2 separate regions of the Homo sapiens genome follow, and region 1 is linked to region 2. The links are contacts of gene promoters, found by promoter capture Hi-C in blood cells and fetal thymus (Javierre and others, 2016). All regions are on one chromosome and are shown on one strand. Each heading gives the region's core, a stretch centred on a gene start or on the middle of the fragment in contact. The rest is flanking DNA. Distances are from core to core; before and after follow the strand shown.

What was found. Contacts are between HindIII fragments. The CHiCAGO score rates a contact against its expected background, and 5 or more counts as called.
Region 1: a fragment that was not itself captured here is called in contact with the fragment with the promoter of CRLF2 in region 2 in 3 of 17 cell types (total B cells, non-activated CD4 T cells and naive CD8 T cells); the score reaches 6.7 in total B cells.

Annotation. Positions count from the first base shown.
Region 1 is chrX:2,609,579-2,613,999 of GRCh38, forward strand. LINC00102 (long intergenic non-protein coding RNA 102) reads right to left here. Exons shown (of 2, transcript NR_037842.1): 2 at 3,413-4,118. It also overlaps the pseudogene CD99P1. Among named protein-coding and RNA genes, the nearest start is that of MIR6089, 2.6 kb to the left of the region's middle. The HindIII fragment of the contact is 6,762 bases long and covers 1-4,421 here.
Region 2 is chrX:1,210,466-1,214,489 of GRCh38, forward strand. CRLF2 (cytokine receptor like factor 2) reads right to left here and starts at 2,184. Exons shown (of 8, transcript NM_022148.4): 1 at 2,091-2,184. The coding sequence starts at 2,169. The HindIII fragment of the contact is 4,372 bases long and covers 1-4,024 here.

The sequences.
Region 1 (4,421 bases), core at 55-2,554, 1.4 Mb after region 2:
CCCGCGGGGACACCCGGCCCCTCTTCCGTGCCCGGCGGGACGCGCTGTGCCCACGGGGACCCAGGTCCGGAGGAGGCGCCCACTTTCTCCCCAGCGCTCTTCCTGGGGCCAGGTGGGAGCCGTTTCAGAGGAAAAAGCCAGCGTTTCTTTCGTAAACCAAAAAGTATCTGGGACAAGTCCCAATCCTTTTGAGTTGATTCGGCGAAGATCAGGAAGGAGCCCGGGAGACGGGTCTATGCCTTTCTCCAAAGATACTATTGAGAGCTTCGGTATTTAAAGGGGGAAAGCACGCTGGAGGGGAAAGAAGGAGGAAGGCTCATTTTACCGAATTCACCTGTTGCAAAAGAAAAGCAGCAGGTAGAATAGTCAATTATGTATTTGTCTTGCGCTCACTAAATTGGCACTTTACTAAGATAAGGTCAACAGAGAGTTATTGCACTGTCTGCTTGGGAACAGAAGGAAAGACAGCTTCCTGCCTGACTCAGCTTCCAGCTTTATTATTATTATTATTAATTATTTTGGCAGAGTGAACTGGGGTTCCAAGTTTTAATTTTCCTTCTACAGTTTGCAGAATCGCAAACTCTTAAATTTAGGGGAACCTGGGGAAGAGGTGGCATCCGATTCCCCCCCAACCCTGGTGACGTTCTTATGGATCTTATGGATACTGCAGTCTCTCTTCTCTTTCTGTCTCTCCTCTCTTCTCTTTCCTTTCTCTCTCTCCTCTTCTCTCCCTCTTCCTCTCTCTCTCCTCTCCTCTCTCTCTCTTCTCTCCTGTTCCCTCTCTCTCTTCTCTCTCTTCTTTCTCTCGCTTTTCTCTCTCCTCACTCTCCTCTCTCCCTCTCTCTCCCCTCTTTCCTCTTTCTCTCGCCTCTCTCTCACCTCTCTCCTCTCTCCCCTTTTCTCTCTCTCCCCCTCTTCTCTCTCTCCCCCTCTTCTTTCTCTCCTTTTCTCTCTCGTCTCTCTCTCCTCTCCTCTCTCCTCTCTCTCTCCTCTCCTCTCTCTCCTCTTTTCTCTCTCCCATCTCTCTCTCTCCTGTCTCCTTCTCTCTTGTCTCTCGCCTTTCTCCTCTCTCTATCTCCTCACTCTCTCCTTCTCTCTCCTCTCTCTCTTGTCTCTCTCCCGCCTCTCTCATCTATCTCCTCTCTCTCTCCCCCCTCTCCTCCCTCTCCTCTTTCTCTCCTCTATCTCCTCTCTCCCCCTCTTTCTCTCTCCTCTCTCTCTCTTACTCCCTCTTTTTCTGTCTCATGCTCATCTTTTACTGTTTTCACCTGAGGGAAGAGTGATGAGAAGATAGGAATTCACGTTTTCTGAAGTATTTAGAAACGTGGGGCCGTGGTGTTTTCTCCACCTGTTTTTGGGTCATTCCTTCCTCATTTCTCAGAACATTGGTATTAACAGCTCATTTCCCTCCTTTAAGGGCTGACTTTGACTTAGCGATGCCTTTCCTGATGGAGGAAACAGTGAGTAACTTTTTAAAGTCTCCTCTGTTGCTGACTTTGCTGATTGTCATTGAATTATTATCATTTTCAAGACATCTCTTTTGCGTGATAAATGGATTGAGTTTGGACAGTGGGAACATAGGAAGTATATGTGTTGTTTATTTTTGTTGTTGGATTTTTGATATATTTTTTTTTTGTTACCAGCATGCTGGTTTTTTTGTTTTTTTTGTTTTTTTTTTTTTTTGAAGTGTAGGTTCAGAGTCTCACTCTGTGGCCCAGGCTGGAGTGCGGTGGCGCGATCTCGGCTCACCGCAACCTCCGCCTCCTGGGCTTAAGCGATTCTTGTGCCTCAGCCTCCTGAGCATCTGGAATTACAGGCACCCACTACCACGCCCGGCTAATTTTTGTCTTTTTAGTAGGGGCTGGGTTTTGCCATGTGGAGCAGGCTGGTCTCTAACTCCTAAACTCAAGCTATGCACTCACCTTGGCCTCCCAAAGTGCTGGGATTATAGGTGCAAGCCATCACGCCCAGCCAGTATGCTGGCTTTTATTTTAAAATGGTTAGTCTTTGGAACAACGTAAGGCAAATGTGACTCCCTTGGCCAGGTCAGGCCTCGTGGGCATAGATCTGCGCAGTCACACAGGGACCTGTGCACACAAGGGTGCCATGCTGCTTTATTGCTGTGTTGCTGCCATCTTCAGATTCTTCATACAGTTGGAACAATGGGTCGCACATTTTCATTTTCACAGGCCCTCCCAAATTCTGGAGGTGGTCTGCACACCTGGTTTAGTTTTCTTTGAAAATACTTGAAGTTAAATCCTGTACCTGGAAGACAACAGAAGGGAATTGGCAGGAGGCTACGTGTATGGGTATCCCCACCATGACAAAAACAAGGGCCAGTTTTTACCTGTTTAGTGAACAGTCTCTGTGCAAATTGATATTTCAGTTTCTTTTCTCATCGCTATGGAAATTGATTTTTCATTTTCTGGTCGCTGTGGAAATTGATTTTTCATTTTCTTTTCTGGTCGCTATCAAAATTGATTTTTCATTTTCTGGTCGCTATGGAAATTGATTTTTCATTTTCTTGACTACTAGGTACTGATGATTGCAACTCTCATGTTTTACAAACAGGTGACCCAGCACCACCTAATGCCCCCAAACCAAAGCCAGATCCAAACCCCAACCGACCTGGTTTCACTGGTAAGAGCCTCTAACCCTACGGGTGGTCTCTATATTGTTTATTGTAACTTTATTTTATACTTATTCATAAGAATATTAATTCACATTTTCTCATGTTTTCTCATTTCTATCATATGACATTTACTGACAAATACTATTCTATCTAAATATATAATAAAATACATTAATTCCTTTAATCCCTAATGTTGAAAACATTGTGTCTTCTGACATTTTAGAATTATGAATTACAAAGCCAATTTGAGTCAACTTTGTCTACTCTTTTTCATTCCTTTGAAGAGATTTCTGGCATTCAAATTGTCTAGATCAATGCTCATGAGTACTTTTATAGCTTTTAACCTGGTTGGTTGTTTGCCCCAGAATTGCACCAATTTGATTTGATACCAGGGTGTCTGCAAATGTCCCTGTCTTCGAACCTTTTCCAGTAGCAATTATCACCTACAAAACCTTTGTCAAATAGTGTAATTATTATATCAAACCGGTCTTAGTTTTACATCTCTCATTCTGAAATGTAAAAAGCATAATGCATCCCAATGGGCCACGGAGACTTCTTCTTTTGTGTATTGGATGCTTTGGCTTTGATCCTTCAATTCATGGTGCCCGCCACCAGGCCCAGCTCATTTTTGTATTGTTAGTAGAGATGGGGTTTCACCATGTTGGCCAGGCTGGTCTGGAACTCCTGACCTCAGATGTTCTGCCTGCCTCAGCCTCCCTACCTACTGATGTATGAGCCTTCTTCAGTGATTTATCAATATTAAAGATTACCAGCCACTTATTATGAAAATGGTTTTGCACTTTATTTTTGCCTTTGAATATTTTTAACAGGAATGTTTTACAAGTGGTATGTTTATTTTTTTATGGTGTCTTATGTTTGTGTGGATATCCTGCTTTTTGTAACTTTTTTTCCTTTTAAATTGAGAATCATTTTGCTATTGTCCCTTCTCTTCAGAGAAGTAAAACCTTCTTTTTAATTTCATTTGAATTGTTTATCACCATAGGTTGATTGAAGGAATGGTAACACGTTTTCAATGTTGAGTTTTTTCTTTTATTTTCTTTCCTTTTTTTATTTTGGAGACAGAGTCTCTCTCTGTCGCCCGGGCTGGAGTGCAGTGGCGTGATCTTGGCTCAGTGCAACCTCCACTTCCTGGGTTCAAGCAATTCTCGTGCCTCAGCCTCCCAATTAGCTAGGATTACAAACATGCACCACCATGCCCGGCAAATTCTTGTATTTTCAGTAGAGACGGGGTTTTGCCATGTTAGCCAGGCTGATCTTGAACCCCTGACCTCAGGTGATCCGCCCATCTCAGCCTCTCAAAGTGCTGGGATTACAGGTGTGAGCCACCATGCCGGCCTGAGCTTTTTCTTTGAGATTCGATTTGTCTCTTCCTCTTGTTGATTCTGTCAATGGGTTTCTAAAGTGTTTTTTCCTTGTTTTTGTTACTCTGAATCCATTTTCATGTCCACTATTTTTCTGTTTATTTCTGTCATGTAGAAGAGATTGTGTATATATTTTTTGCAATCCATGAAATGATGACCCTTTGTTAAATTTCAATTTTTTTTCTCTTCATTTCTGACCTTTTCTAAGAAGTTGGTCATGTTATTTGGTAATGGGTTTTTAAAATTTTCCCTGTTCCTAGATTTATACGTTCTCTTTACAGTTTATTTGTAATTTAGTTCTATGGCCTTTGCTAGAAGACTCAGGACAACTTTTAATATGTAGAGTTGTAAATATGGTAGACAACTTTTTTTCCAGACATTAGGACAAAAACCCAAAGAGATTCACC
Region 2 (4,024 bases), core at 934-3,433:
ACCATGCCCGGCTGATTTTTTGTATTAGTACAGACGGGGTTTCACCGTGTTAGCCAGGATGGTCTCCATCTCCTGACCTTGTGATCCGCCCACCTCGGCCTCCCAAAGTGCTGGGATTACAGGCATGAGCCACAGCGCCCGGCCAAGTCTCTCACTGTCAAAGAAGTCAGTTACAGGTTTGGAAAGATGGGGTACAGTGAACCTTGTCATGTTGGGTTCTAAGTGGAGGTATCTGGAGGATAGATAGATACAGATAGATAGATAAATGGTAATGTTAGATAGATAGAATTATATAGATGATGATAGAAATAGTTAGACAGACAGACACAGATAGATAGGGATGGGTAGGTAGATGGATGAATCAATGGACAGGTGGGTGTATAGGTGGAAGACAAGTGGATGGGTGGGTGGATGGGTGAGTGGATGGATGAATAAATGGATGAACAGATACACAGGTGAATGGGTGGATGGGTGGATGGATGCATGGATAGATGGATACATAGATGTGTACATGGATGGGTGGATGGATGGATGGATGAGTGGATGAAAGTGTGGGTGAATGCATAGGTGGATGGATGGTTTGATGGGTGGGTGGATGGATGTGTTGGTGGATGGATGGATAGATGGATAAGTGGATGAAAGGATGGGTGGGTGGATGAGTGAGTCAGTGGATAAATAAATGGATGAACAGATACATAGGTGAATGGATGGATGGATGGATGGATGGATGGATGCATGGATAGATGGATACGTAGATGTGTACATGGATGGGTGGGTGGGTGGATGGATGGGTGGATGGATGGATGGATGGATGGATGGATGGATAAGTGGATAAAAGTGTGGGTGAATGCATGGATAGATGGATGTATTGGTGGGTGGATGGGTGGATGGGTGGATGGATGGATGGATGGATGGATGGATGGATGGATGGATGGATAAGTGGATAAAAGTGTGGGTGAATGCATGGATAGATGGATGTATTGGTGGATGGATGGGTGGATGGGTGGATGGATGGATGGATGGATGGATAAGTGGATAAAAGTGTGGGTGAATGCATGGATAGATGGATGTATTGGTGGATGGATGGGTGGATGGATGGATGGATGGATAAGTGGATAAAAGTGTGGGTGAATGCATGGATAGATGGATGTATTGGTGGATGGATGGGTGGATGGATGGATGGATGGATAAGTGGATAAAAGTGTGGGTGAATGCATGGATGGATGGATGTATTGGTGGATGGATGGGTGGATGGGTGGATGGATGGATGGATGGATGGATAAGTGGATAAAAGTGTGGGTGAATGCATGGATAGATGGATGTATTGGTGGATGGATGGGTGGATGGATGGATGGATGGATAAGTGGATAAAAGTGTGGGTGAATGCATGGATGGATGGATGTATTGGTAGATGGATGGGTGGATGGGTGGATGGATGGATGGATGTATTGGTGGATGGATGGGTGGATGGGTGGATGGATGGATGGATGGATGATAGATGGGTGGATGGGAGGATGGATAGATAACAGCTGGGTGGATGGTGGATGGATGGATGAGTGAATGAAAGGTTGGGTGGACGGATGGCTGGGTGGGTTGATGGGTGGGTGAATGTATGAGTGGATGAATCGTTTGATAGATGGGTGGATGGATATATTAGTGGATGGATCAATGAATAATAGATGGATGGATAGTGGATGGATGGGTGATTAATGGGAAAAGATAGATGAGATACATTGATGGATAGATTAAAAATGAATATATCTACCAATCAATCAATCAATAGATAGACACACACACGCACACATACAGTTCCTAGTTCTGGCCACCGAAAGCTCATATAAGCAGTGGATATTCCGGGAGCAATAAGTATACTTAATATTCATGTATTTACTTATAAATATGTTTTGTCCCAGCTACTTGAGAAGCTGAGGCAGGAGAATTGCTTGAACCCGGAAAAAAAAAAAAAAAAAAAAGAAAAGAAGAAAGAAACCTCCATGCTCATTGTTTAAGTTTTACAAAATAAAGAGTGCCTGGTTGCAAAGCAAACCACAAACCAAAATACAACAAGAAGAGGGTGTTTAAATAATTACCTGCTCCTCCTTGCCCCAAAGCCATCCAGCCTCCCAGCAGAAAGACGGCAGCTCCCCACAGCAGAACCAGCCGCCCCATGCCTGAAACAGGAGTGGAGAGTGAGGTCCTCAGGGACCTACAACGAACAGATCACTCATGACTCATAAGCAGAGGTCACCATCGATTTTAAAAAGTCAGAAAGGAAACTAGGGAAATGATTACAGGCAGGAAGCACAGTGACAGTTGATTTTCAAAGATACACTTGTCAAGAACACACACACACACACACACACACACACACACAATCAATCCAGGATCAGGACTGCCACGCACACTGCTGAGCTGAGCCCTCCCCTTCCCTCCCCCTCCCCCATCTCCTCCCCCTCCCCTCCATTCCCTTCCCTCCCTCCCCCTCCCCTCCCCTCCCCTCCATTCCCTCCCCACTCCCCTCCCCTCCCCCTTCCCCTCCCCTCTCTTTCCTTCCTTTCCCTTCCCCTCCCCTCCCCTCTCCCCTCCCCTTCCCCCTCTCCCCTCCCCTTCCCCCTCCCCTCCCCTCCCTTCCCTTCCTTTCACTTCCCCTCCCCCTCCCCTCTCCCCTCCCCTCCATCCCCTCCCCTCCCCTCCCTTCCCTTCTGCCTCTCCCCCACCCCCTCCTCCCTCCCCTCCCCCTCCCCCTTCCCTTTCCTCCCCTCCCCTCCTCCTCCCCACCTCCCCTCCCCCTCCCCTCCCCCTTCCCTCCCCTCCCCCTTCCCTCCCCTCCCTTCCCTTCCTTTCCCTTCCCCTCCCTTCCCCTTCCCCCCCACCCCACCCCCTCCCTTCCCATCCCCCTCCCATCCCCTCATCTTTTGTCCCCCTCCCTTCCCCCACCCCCTCCACCTATCCCCTCCCCTCCCCTCCATGGATGGTATATGGATGGATGGATAAGTGGATGAAAGGATGTGTGGATAGGTGGGTGGATGGATGGATAAATGGATGAACAGATACATAGGTGGATGGGTGGATGGATGCATGCATAGATGGATACGTAGATGTGTACATCCCCTCCCCTCCCTTCCCCTCCCCCCTCCCCCCACCCCCTCCTCCCTCCCCTCTCCCTCCCCCTTCCGTCTCCTCCCCTCCCCCTCCCCTCTCCTCCCCTCCCCCTCCCCACCTCCCCTTCCTTTCTCTTGCTTTTCCTTTCTTTTTTTTTGAGCTGGAGTCTCACTCTCTGTCACCCAGGCTGGAGTGCAGTGGCACGATCTTGGCTCACTGCAACCTCCTCCTCCCGGGTTCAAGCGATTCTCCTGCCTCAGCCTCCTGAGTAGCTGGGATTACAGGCGCCCACCACCACGCCTGGCTAATTTTTATATTTTTAGTAGAGATGGGGTTTCACCATGTTGGCCAGGCTGGTCTCAAACTCCTGACTTCAAGTGATCGGCCCGCTTCAGCCTCTCAAAGTGCTGGGATTATAGGCGTGAGCCACCGTGCCCAGCTTTTCTTTCCTATTCTTTGAGACAAGGTGTTCGTCTGGTACCCACGCAGGAGTGTTGTGGTGCAATCAGGACTCACCACAGCCTCAAACAGCTTGGCTCAAGCAATCCTCTTGCCTCAACCTCCCTAGTAGCCGGGATTACAGATGCATGCCACCCACCCTGCTGATTTTTGTATTTTTCATAGAGACGGGGTTTCACCATGTTGACCAGGCTGGTCTCAAACTCCTGGACTCAGGTGATCCACCCGCCTCGACCTCCCAAAGTGCTGGGATTATAGGCGTTAGCCACCGCACCTGGCCTGAGCTTTGCTTGAAAGCATATCACAGAGCAGCCTGGCCAACATGGCGAAACCCTGTCTCTACTAAAAAAAAAAATACAAAAATTAGCCAGGCGTGGTGGCACGCACCTGTAATCCCAGCTACTCAGGAGGCTGAGACGGGGAGAATCGCTTGAACCCAGGAGGCAGAGGTTGCAGCGAGCCA